Linked DNA regions of Homo sapiens: region 2 is linked to region 1. The links are contacts of gene promoters, found by promoter capture Hi-C in blood cells and fetal thymus (Javierre and others, 2016). All regions are on one chromosome and are shown on one strand. Each heading gives the region's core, a stretch centred on a gene start or on the middle of the fragment in contact. The rest is flanking DNA. Distances are from core to core; before and after follow the strand shown.

Evidence for each region. The method cuts DNA at HindIII sites, captures the fragments that hold promoters and counts their contacts. A CHiCAGO score of 5 or more calls a contact.
Region 2: a contact is called between a fragment that was not itself captured here and the fragment with the promoter of SMURF2 in region 1, in 1 of 17 cell types (M0 macrophages). The highest score is 5.6, in M0 macrophages.

What each region holds. Positions count from the first base shown.
Region 1 is chr17:64,659,679-64,665,978 of GRCh38, reverse strand. It overlaps SMURF2 (SMAD specific E3 ubiquitin protein ligase 2), which reads left to right and starts at 3,672. Exons shown (of 19, transcript NM_022739.4): 1 at 3,672-4,150. The coding sequence starts at 4,099. RefSeq lists an enhancer at 2,820-3,378 and silencers at 3,529-3,928, 3,979-4,178. The HindIII fragment of the contact is 18,568 bases long and covers 1-6,300 here.
Region 2 is chr17:64,522,694-64,528,873 of GRCh38, reverse strand. CEP95 (centrosomal protein 95) reads right to left here. Exons shown (of 20, transcript NM_138363.3): 8 at 5,979-6,172; 9 at 2,992-3,104; 10 at 2,674-2,803; 11 at 1,610-1,763. Among named protein-coding and RNA genes, the nearest start is that of CEP95, 19 kb to the right of the region's middle. The HindIII fragment of the contact is 4,120 bases long and covers 1,848-5,967 here.

The DNA of each region.
Region 1 (6,300 bases), core at 2,423-4,922:
TAAAAATGGTGGCTGAATGAATCTCATAGTAATATTTTGATATGTAAAGAATGGTCCTGCTGGGCACAGTGGCTCACGCCTGTAATCCCAGCACTTTGGGAGGCCGAGGAGGGTGGATCACAAGGTCAGGAGTTCGAGACCAGCCTGACCAGCATGGGGAAACCCCCGTCTCTACTAAAAAAAAAAAAAAAAATACAAAAATTAGCCAGGTGTGGTGGTGGGTGCCTGTAATCCCAGCTACTCAGGAGGCTGCGGCAGGAGAATCACTTGAACCCAGGAGGTGGAGGTTGCAGTGAGCCGAGATTGCACCACTGCACTCCAGCCTGGGCAACAGAGTGAGACTCCGTCTAAAAAAAAAAAAAGAATGGTTCTGTTTTCATGTCCAATGCTATTTTCCTTTCCTCAAAGACTTTTACACCTGAATGTATATAATTGATTTTACCTAAGATTCCCATCCCTTAATTTTCCGTCTTATCTTTCCCAAGTTCCGGCTATTAATTTGGTAATTCCCTACATGTTGTCATTATAATGTATATATATCCCCCTTTGGGGACATAAACATATCCCCAAGGGAAGAGAAACACATAAACTTTTTTGTTTTTTTAAACTTTCTAACCCAATCGTCTCTGAAATCTGAGCCTGGACTAGATGAGGCCACTCACTTAAGAGAGGCCTTCAAAATGACTTTCCTATTATGAGTATTCTGTTTTTGAGTGCATTTGTTTTTTGAGGTAGGGTCTTACTCTGTTGCCCAGGCTGGAGTGCAATGGCATAATCATGGCTCACTGCAGCCTCAACCTCCTGGGCTCCAGTGATCCTCCCACCTTGGTCTCCCGAAGTGTGGGGATTACAGGTGTTAGCCACCACGCTCTGCCCCTGTTCTATGTTTTCATTTATTTTACTTCATTTTAAACATTTAGTTACTTTTAAATAAATGTTTACAGTCAATGTCAATATTTAAGATGGCAAGGAAAACAATAAAATGAACATCCATGTACCTGCTTAAAAAAATCATTACCAGTACATTGATTTTCTTTTTATTTTTGTGATAGTCTCAGTATGCTGCCCAGGATGGAATGCAGTGGCACTGGAATGCAGTGGTGTGATCACGGCTCACTGCAACCTTGACCTCCACAGGCTCAGGTGATCCTATCTCAGCCTCCTGAGTAGCTGGGCCTATAGGTGCAGGCCACCACTCCTGGCTAATGTTTTGTAGATACGGGGTTTTGCCATGTTGCCCAGGCTGGTTTCAAACTCCTGGGCTCAAGTGACTCCTCTGCCTCGGCCTCCCAAAGTGCTAGGATTACAGGCATGAGTCACCATGCCCAGCCCTTGAATGGTTTTAGTGTTATTCTTATCTGAATATTTGTTTTAAACAACAGGATTTAACCTTACAAGAAAGCCTAAATACAAACCTCTGCACGTTAACCCTATATACATTTTTCTATGCTGTCACTTACATTTTTTAATTTACTGCTTTCAACTTCAAAACAAGCAGTCTCCCCCAGGTCTCCCATGACGTTCTGAAATCCTAACTTCTATTACCTAATACAAGGCTACAAATTATGTTAGTTGGGTGGTTGGGAACAAAGCGTGCTGTAAAAATAAGGCAAATGTGTATGTGTACATTAGTTTGCTAAGTTTTTTGCCACTGTCTGCCCTCTTAAATTGTGGTAGCAGCTATTGTTCACATTGATTTCTATATATTTGTAGTACAAGGAAGCATTTCTAAAGGACCTTGTTCATTGCTTTGCACAAAATGGCCACTTAATATTTGTTGAATGAATTGCTGGCACTATCTCTGGTATTTTAATTTTTATTTATTTATGTATTTATTTTTGATATGGAGTCTCGCTCTGTCACCCAGGCTGAAGTGCAGTGGCGTGATCTCGGCTCACTGCAACCTCCCGTGTTCAAGCGATTCTCTTGCCTCAGCCTCCCTAATTGCTGGGACCACAGGCATGCGCCACCAGGCCCGGCTAATTTTTTTGTATTTTTTTTTAGTACAGACGGGGTTTCACCATGTTGGCCAGGCTGGTCTCAAACTCCTGACCTCAAATGATCCGCCCACCTCGGCCTCCCAAAGTGTTGGAATTACAGGCGTGAGCCACTGTGCCCGGCCTATCTGTGGTATTTTTAGTGTGATGTCTAGAACTTCATATACTTTTTTGGATTACTTTTAATTGTAGGGCTGTATCCAAACTGATGAAATGTTCTCGCAGGTAACTATCTGGAGAAGTGAGTTCACTGATGTATTAAAAGAAATGACTGGCATGGAATAAGGATTAAAATATATTAATCCAAAACATTTAAAATTGCATTAATGTTATAATAGCCTAAAGCAAAACTAACGAATCACATAAAAAATCCCCCACGCTATTGTCCTTAGTAGTTTACATTGTGCTAGATACTTTCGCATGTATATGCATACAACTTCTATTCTGTTTTTAAACTTTGCATTACATATACATTCTTCCATATTATATGATCTTCATAAAAATAGTTACATGGCTGCATAAAAAACCATGCGGTTCCTGGACTATTATGCTATTCCCTCATTCCCCTTTTGTTATTAATGGAATATAGCAAAGAACATCTTCTGTACGATTATTTGTCAAGAATAGGGCCGGTGCGGTGGCTCAGGTCTGTAATCCCAGCACTTTGGGAGGCCGAGGCGGGCTGATCGCTTGAGGTCAGGAGTTCGTGACCAGCCTGGGCAACATGGGAAAACCTAAACGTCTCTACTAAACATGTCTCTACTAAAAATACAAAAATTAGTGGGGCGTAGTGGTGCACACTGTGGTCTCAGCTACTCCAGAGGCTCAGGTGGGAGGATCACCTGAGCCCCGGAAGTTGAGACTGCAGTGAGCCGTGTTCGCACCACTGCACTCCAGCCTGGGCGACAGAGGGAGACCCTGTCTAAAAACAAAAAAATAAAAAATAAATTTCTAGCAGTACAGTTACAATGTCAAAGGATAAGGTACACATTTTTTAAAAACTTTTCTCTTTCTCCTCCTGAGATAACGAAATACAGTAGCGTATGAACAACTCTTCATACATTACTCTCCAAGGTTTATCTTGTTAATCCTTTAAGACGTATCATCTCCCCATCCTTGGCTGCACCTGAAAAGAGCGGGAGTCGGCAGGTAACCTGATCTCCTCCACCAGGTGAGTCCCGGATGGAGGTGTCAACTACAAGACCAGGAGCAGAGCATTCCTGGGGTTTTGCTGGAACCATCGGCGTGGGAATGCTTTCTCTTCCCTCGCCCGAAAGACGCCAAGTTCCCGGCAGGCAGCGGACTCGGTTCTAACCTTCCTCGCCCCAGCCTCTCGGAGCGCCCTGCACGCAGTGGGCGTCTAATAAAATGCAGTTGGCCCTGCTTGGACAAAAGTTCTCCCTTAAGTGGCCCGGACAGTAAACCCCTCCAGGTGCCACAGAGCTGCCGCGCCCGCCGCCGCTTTGCTCCCTGCCTGCTCCCTCCCAGCGTTCCGCGTGGGACCCTCGGCGGCAGCTCACACCCTCCCTGACTGCCGGTGCCCGCCAGGGCACCCTGCGCGCGCCCGCCGGCCCCGCCCCGGCCCCGCCCCGCCCCGCCGGCCCCGCCTCCCGTCTCCTCCCCGCCCCCCGGAGCCGACGAGTGGCGGCGGCGGCCCCAGGTCCCGGGTCCCTCAGACAAGAGGGCGGGTGGAGGAGGAAGCGGCCGAGCCCAGAGTTCTGCTCCGGCGCCCCCGAGCACCGCCCGCTTCAGCCGACCAGCCCCGTCGGCTACTGGGCCTCGCCGAGACGAGAGGAGGGAAAGGCCTCGGCGGCCGCGAGGAGGCGGCGGGGGCGCGGGCGGAGGCGGCGCGGGCGGCCGCGGCTGCCGCTTTGTTGTGCGGCCCGGGCCGAGGAAGGAGAAGTGGGAGGAGGGGGGAGCTCGGCGTCCCGCTCCCTCCGCGGCTCATGGCGACGACTCTCGGCACATCCGGGACCCTCCGGCCGTGGCGGCCGAGGCGCCGGCTGCTCGGGCCCCAGCCCCGGCCGCTGTGGTGACTCCGCCGCGCCTCGCCGTCGCCCCCGTGCCGCCCGCCGCCCCCGCCGCCCCCGCCGCCGGGGACATGTCTAACCCCGGAGGCCGGAGGAACGGGCCCGTCAAGCTGCGCCTGACAGGTGAGGGGGGGCGGCGGGCCGGGCTGGGCAGCCGCGGGGTGGGCGAGCTGGCGGGGGGTGCCTGTGGCCTTGGGAAGGGCCAGGGTCGCGATCAATGATGAGTTGGGGGTCGGAGGAATGGGAAGGCCTAGTTCAGGGAGAGTAATTGGAAAACCACTTGCTCTGGTTTGGACATTGTTTAAAAAGCCGAGGATGACTCGGGGCGGGGGGTGGTGTTTTGTGGAGGGGAGAATACACCGGTTCGCATCGCAGGCGGATTTCAGGTCGGAAAGTCTTGGTCAAGGAGCCAGACGCTGCCTCCCGGGGCTCGGGGAACAGCCCCTGGGCTACCGCCCAGGTGAGATCGTGAAGGGGATGAAGAGCTCCCGTGGCGAGGATTATTGAATCCGGTTGCTGACTGCGCGCAGTAAACACTCCTTAAAGATGGAGCGCTTAACGGGAGGGTGTGCGTGTGTGTTCCCGGGTTGTTACCTTGCACACACCCAGTTATGCCCGCATGAAAAACCTTTACTCCCCGCCGCCGGCCACCGCTGCCCGGGCCACACACCTTAAACTCATGTCTCTGAGGTGAGGAGACAGGTTGACTTTTCCGGTGTGCCTGTCTGATCCGACGGCTTGGGCTCATTGTACACTGTGTTTTGGAAGTGTCTGATTGTAGGGTGGCATGTTTGGGGTTGTTCCTTTTAGGCCGCAGAACTTGTGTCTAACTTCTAACGCCAGACCTGCTTTAAAAACACACTTTTTTGGGGGGGGTGCATTGCTAAGTATGTGCTCATACAAACTTTCGAGCAAACTTTCTGTTACTCTCCCCACCCTCCCCATTCCTTTTTCGAAATGGAAAAGAATGTCCGGAGGGGTTGCCAGATAGAAGACTACACTTACAAAGTGTTTATGATTCCAGGTGCATGAAATCTTTAACATTACAGGTACGTTTTGCTTACAGTGCCATTTTTGGTATTCTTACATGGACATGCCACCCCCGTTTTAGGAGAACTTTTATTTGGTTTGTAAAGGAATTGGAATCACGGCGTTATCCTACCTTCACCATTTACCCCTGATAAATTGTCCACGTTTGTATTCGGGTGAGTGGTGAGAAAGATAATTTTCCGTAGAGGATTTGTGTGTGCGTGCACGTGTACGGATAAACTGTAATTATGTTTGCCCACACTAGACTTTGAGATTTATTTGGACTAATTTTGTAGTTAAATGCCTGTGTGTCACATCCCAGTCCACTGGCTGAACTTGCTGGATGAAAACTTGCAGTGAATTTGGTATTTGAGAATTTAGCTTGAATGTATGTTGGCTGCAATTTAAATAATATATTACTTTCATGGCAGTTTTCCTTTCCCTAGGGAAAATTGCAGGGAATCATTAACTGAGTGATTCTTAATGGAAAACCTGGATTGGAGGATACTTGTATTCCACCCCCTCCCCCCTCATTCAGTGTCCTTACATTGGGAGGAGTCAGTGGAAACCTTTATAGGGGATCTTTGTTGCTTTAGAGTTTATCTGTTGCTGTTGCTGTCTGTAGTCAGTGATCGTGGAAAGAACATGTGATCCCAGGTGTGCAGAAAGCATCAGAAATAGGCTGTTTCCATTTACCCTCCTCTGGGCTATGTAGAGAAAATGAGGGAAAAAATTGGGTTTTTGATTTTCTGCAGATAAGGTTAGTTGAGGTTTTTAGTATGACTTAATAGATCTTAAAGTGTTTATCTGTGGTTTCCGTACTGCCTATGATACATTATAAGAATTTATAATTAAAGTTTATTAAGAGGAAAGATTATGCTTATATTTTAGGGGAAGGGGGAATATTGAACTACATTTATAGTGATTTTGTTTCAGGTTTTTCTGAGGAATTTTAAATACCCTGTGTCCTCTTAATAGTAAAAACAGTTTGAGGTACTCTGAGTTTCTTACAACTATTTGTCTCTGAATAGTTTTCTCTTAAAATTTGACAAATATTAAAAACATTGTCCTTCCTTCTTTGGTTACAGTGGAGTCTCTTCTGTTTTGCCAGGAAAGTTAACATATTTTTTCTTCCATTTTTGTTCATCATTTATAAATTAGATGGTATAGATTTTAGCAAATAGATCTCAAGAGCTGGATTCAATTAGCAGCTTTTTAGGACATAAACATTAAAGGGTTAGATG
Region 2 (6,180 bases), core at 2,658-5,157, 140 kb after region 1:
TTAATGTGTTAAGCATTGTCTAAGTGGTCTCAATTTTTCCCTACTTAGCAATCTAGCCCTCCTAATTGCACACTGCCAAAGAGATCTAATAAACCATTTCCTTCTACAAACCTTTTTATCCCATTGTCTATAGGTGTGTCTGGGGATCTGCTAGTTGTGAAGAGGGTGACTCCAGTGGGAAAAGCACTTCAACATAGCCTTAAGACCAAGGAAGCTAGTTTGGTACCTTTATAAATAAATTTTCCGAGCTTATTATTTTTTTCACATGCTTTTAATTCAAGTCTTTCACATTTCAAATTCTAAGATGTATTTTTAAAAACTGACTTGCATAATCTATTTTAAATGATAGCTGCTCATGATGTATTTTTCTCTAGAAACTGAAGACGCACTTGAAATAATATTTTAATTTATAACCTGTTTTCACAATAGGATACCATGTGTATGTACATAAAAAGGGAAAGGAAGAGGTTCCTGGATGAGGGTGCCTAGAAATTAGCTGAGTCCTTTTAAAGGGAAGAGAGAGGAAATAATCAAGAGAAGGAAAGAGCATTCTTGAAGGAGTAAAAAACAACTGAAAAAGTTAAGGAAGTTGGATCAGAAAAAGACTATTTCTGAAGAAACAATGGATGACCAAAGTAGATAAAACTAAATGTAAAATATGCAGGATTTTAGTTGGTGGAAGACAGGATAATTGGATTTGAACAATGGCATATCAAACAGTAGAAGTATCTGCAAAGACACGGCAAACCAGAAACTGCTGATACGAGTATAAAGCAGTGCAATCACTTTGGTGGGCAAGTTGGCAGTGGTGAAGAAATGTAGGCCTTATGATCCAGCAATCCTACTAGATGGAGATATCACAGAAACTCTTACACATATTCTAGGCTGTTCATTGCAGAATTTTTATAGTAATGAAAACTGGAAACAACATGTCCAGCAATAGGGGAAATAGATAGTGCTACACGCGTGTGTGTGTGTGTGTATATATATATATATATATATACACACACACACACACACATTAAGTGGCACACTGCAAGAACTCAGTCATGTCCAGCAGTAGGGGAAATGGATACTGCTATACATATACCCACACAAAAGTGACACACTGTAAGAACTCAGTTACACTGCAGTTAAAATGAATGAGCTGGATCTGTAAGGATCAACATAAATAGATTTCTAAGACAATGTCAGAAAAAAACGCAAGTTGCAGAATAATATATACAGTATGTAAATTTTTAAACAACATAAAACAATACTATGTTTAGACAAGTAATGCATGAGCTCTTAAAGTATAAAAACAAGGATCAGAAGAAAAGATGCCAACTTTAAGACAGTGGTTGCACTGAGGGTGGGGAAAAGAGATCTGTGGGGAGAGCAGAGGGGGTTTCTACTGTTTTATTTCTTAAACACAAAGGGGCTAAAGCAAATATAATTGTTAACACTTGCTACTTCTAGATGGGGAAGATCCAGGTGTTTGATATTACTTTTGATCCTTTTATATATTTCTCAACTATTTAAAATTAGAATATAAGTTATTAAGAACAGATGGAACTGCCTAAGTAGTTCACATGGATGTCCCCCTTCTCAGTCTCTCTGGGGTAAGTACCTGGCCTTGACTTCTTTGGCCCATACTCCACGATGCCATCACTGTGCTGAGACAGTGTCTCCTCAGTTCCATCCTCTACCTCCTCATTTCCAGTATTTTCTTCTTTATGGTCAGTCTTTTCTTTAATCCGATCACCCAGAGCACTTTTTAACATCTATTGAGAAAATTCTTTTCAACATCTTTCACTGATTTCAGCAGAATGTAAATTCGTAGGAGTAGGCAGACCTTTAAAAAAGCTTCCTTTGACAGTCACTAATAACAAGTTTTCAGACGCTTATGCATGTTTAATTATTTACTTTTATTTTGAGACAGGATCTCACTCTGTCACCCAGGCTGGAGTGCAGTGGTGCTAGCTGGGCTCACTGTAACCTCTGCCTACTGGGTTCCAGTGATCCTCCCATCTCAACCACTTGAGTAGCTGGGATTACAGGCATATGCCACCAAGCCTGGCTAATCTTTTATTTTTTGTAGAGATGGGGTTTTGCCATGTTGCCCAGGCTGGTCTCAAACTCCTGGGCTTAAGTGATCCACCTGCCTCAGCCTCTCAAAGTGTTGGAATTACAGTTGTGAGCCACCACACCTGGCATACATGTTTAGTTTTAAAAAGGTGTATATCAGTGCTATGGATCACTAAGTTTCAATAAACTTTAGAAAAAGTCACGTAGGGATTTAAAACATTCATTCAATGATACCTTAAAACTGTAATATTGTATTTTGTGAGAATCAGTGATCCATCCAATTTTATACCAGATCTGTCTTTAGCGGCAAAGGGGAACTATAAAGACATATCTAAAGAAAAATGGCTTAACATAATCGTTTATGTTAAATGATTTAGTTTTCATCAGAATTCAATAAAATTTGGATAAATCTGCACCAAATTTAGTTAGATCATGAAACGCTGAGAGATCACTTCCTGTTCTACCTGCTTGACTTACGGAACATTTTCACAGTAACTATTAATAAGACACAACTAATTTTCTAATACCTCACTTTCAATTGAGAGATTACTTAAATGCTCACTTAACCCATGGGAATCTCAATATAGATGAAAAAACAAGACTTGCCCAATCTAGTTCAGAAAGCCGCTGAGAGAGTTTTTCTGATACATCATGTAATTCTTGTTCTGTTAATCTCTTTCTTGGCCTCTGGGGGAAAGGTGAATTGCAGGATGAGGCTGTAGCTCTGTTTTCATTTCTGTAATAAAAGTGACCATTTGACAGTAAAATAGCTAGGTGTCTATTATTTAGTTTAAAATAACTGTAATACGTACTTTAACAAATACTTCATTCTGGTCTTCACAGCTAAATTTGGAGATCATGCCCCTGCATTTTCAAATTCCTTTGTAAACAGACTGTAAACACTGAAGTCTGCAGTAATGTTACCTTTTTCCTTTGGGAGGCTTCCTTGTCCTAGGCCCTTGGACCTGAGCTGGATATACTTCCCATTTGCTGCCTTTAGGCAACTTGGAAATTAAGAAAAGTCCATCATCTAGATCCTATTAAAAACAGAAAAAAAGTTGATTTGAAAAAGCTACAAATAAGAAACATGAACTTTCTGGGAGTGAGGAAGGGAGGAACTGTGGCACAAAGCTACGTGCCTTCAATCTCCGTGTTTTGAAGTGCATTTGTCAAAAGACCCTATTGACACCCAGTGCACCAAAGGACTGGAGCAATGTCTAGAAACTTGTGCTCAGAGAACAAATGTGGCTCAGGATGCCATTCAAATAAAAACACAGGCCAGGTGTTCTCTAAATATGAAATTTCAGGGATTACCACTATACCTGAGCAACAAAAAAATTATCACTAGTACAAAGTATTCAAGTGGCTATCTTTTGTATCAATGTCAATAAAGGCTGTCCAAAATTGAAACAGTTAAAACAAAGACAACACCTCTCAAAATATGAATATAAACCCTTAACATTTTAAATTTCCTTTTTTTTTTGAGACAGTTTTCCTCTGTTGCCTAGGCTGGAGTGCAATGGCTTGATCCGCCTCCCAGGTTCAAGCGATTCTCCTGCCTCAGCCTCCCTAGTAGCTGGGATTACAGGTATATGCCACAACACCTGGCTAATTTTTTTGTGTATTTTTAGTAAAGACGGTGTTTCGCATGTTGGCCAGGCTGGTCTCGAACTCCTGACCTCGAGTGATCCACCCGCCTCAGCCTCTCAAAGTGCTGGGATTACAGGCATGAGCTACCGTGTCCGGCTAAATTTATTTCTTGGTCTTAGAGATAATCTTTTAGAAAATACTTCTTGTGATGAAGAAACATTTAATGTTTGTTTGTTTTTTTGTTTTTTGAGATGGGGTCTTACTGTCACCCAGGCTGGAGTGCAGTGGTGCAGTCTTGGGTCACTGCAACCTCCACCTCCTGGGTTCAAGCAATTCTCCTGACTCAGCCTCCAGAGTAGCTGGGATTACAGGCACCTGCCACCGCGCCTGGCTAATTTTTGTATTTTCAGTAGAGACAGGGTTTCACCATCTTGGCCAGGCTGGTCTTGAACTCCTGACCTCGTGATCCACCCACCTCAGCCTCTCAAAGTGCTGGGATTACAGGTGTGAGCCACCGCACCCGGCCATTTATTTAATGTTTAATGATATCTTTAATTTCACTTCATTATCTTTTTCTATTAAAGTAAAATTAAATACCCTTTAGTAGGCTGGGTATGGTGATTCATGCCTATAATCTCAGCAATCTGGGAAGCAGAGGCAGGCAGGTGAGGCCAGGAGTTTGAGACCAGCCTGGCCAACATGGCAAAACCCCGTCTCTACTAAAAATATTTTTAAAAAAAATCAGCCAGGTGTGGTGGCACGTGTGCCTGTAGTCCCAGCTACTTGGGAGGCTGAGGCAGGAGAATCACTTGCCTGGGAGGTGGAGGTTGCAGTGGGTGCAGACTGCACCACTACACTCCAGCCTGGGCGACACAGCGACACTCTGTCTCAAAAAAAAATAAAACAAACAACCTTTTACTAAATAGCAACTAAAATATAATCATATTTTAATAAAACTTTTAAAATAAAGTATTTCTAGCTCAATGAATTATTTGAAAATAAACACTCCCCTTTAACTGCCACCCAGGTCAAGAAACAGAGTATTACCAACTCAGAAATATCTCTAAAACCCCCACTATGATTCCCCCAAAAGTAAACATTATCTTATGACTCCATTTTAACACCTCTTTTTATCTAATCCCTCTCCTGTTTAGATGCACAGAATGTTGAGAATGTGGTCACCTATTGTTAATAATGCTTATTTCATCTCTGTACTTTTAATGCATTGCTTGAATGTTTAAATAATGAAAATGTATCACTGTTTATATATCTACCCTGTGTACATACCTGCCTGTTGTTTTTCTTATTTTATTTTTTTCTTTTTGAGACAGGGTCTTGCTCTGCTGCCCAGGCTGGAATGCAGTGGTGTGGTCACAGCTCACTGAAGCTCCTGGGCTCAAGTGATCCTCCTGCCTCAGCCTACTAAGTAGCTAAGATCACAGGCATGCACCACCACTCCAGGCTAATTTTCTATTTTTAGCAGAGACAAGGTCTCACTATGTTTCCCAGGGTGGTCTCAAACTCTGGCACTCACATGAGCCTCCCAAAGTGCTGGGATTATGGGTGTGAGCCACCGAACCCAGTCCTGTTCTTTTTAGAAAGATAAGGACAGGATGACTATATAAAAAAGGTTTTTTCTTTTTTTTTTTTGAGATGAAGTCTTACTCTGTCACCCAGGCTGGAGCGCAGTGGCGTGATCTTGGCTCACTGCAATTGAACCAAATAGATCAATATGTTAACAGTGGTTCATGGTGGATAATGGGAATATGCATGGATGGTTATTTTCTTTTCCACTCTGTGTTTTCTAAATTTGAAATTATTAAATTACGGACACAATATGGACTCTGAAGCCAGAATGTCCAAGTTCAAATCCTGACTCTGTAATTGCTGTGTAACCTTGCCCTCTCTACATCAGCTTCCCAACAATAAATAAATATAGTAGCTACTCCAGAGTTGTTATGGGCAGTAAATTATTCAATACCCCTAAAGTATCCAGAACTGCGCCTGGCACAACATAAACATTCACTATGTGTTGGCTCTTATTATTTCCCTTTATATGCATTCGTTTTTCTCCTATCTTCCTAGAACAAGAATGTGCAGGTGTATACAGAGGCAAATTTTAAGGAGTACGATGCTTTGACTAGTGCAATATGCTTGACAATTCTAGCAGACTTCTTTAAATATAGGGGCTTCCTTGACAAAGAATAAAGACTTCACCAATACACATACACACACACGGCCTTCTAATCAATTACCAACACACACACAGACATACATACAAGTGTACTTCTAGCCAACTGAAAGTAAGCTTTTCCACTTACCCCAGAAAATTCCGTATGCTCTCCAGTAGAATTTACGGCTGGGGAGCAGTGACTTGAATGCAAGTATTCTTTTCCTATGGGGCAGGGTGCTCGAGGCTCTGAAGGGTGGTAGGGTGGATGTAAAGGAATAGCTGCTCGGATAGGCTCCCCTAGCTTCCTAGCATTTGGAATCCCACTCACAGAAAGGGTTTCCGCTAGTAAG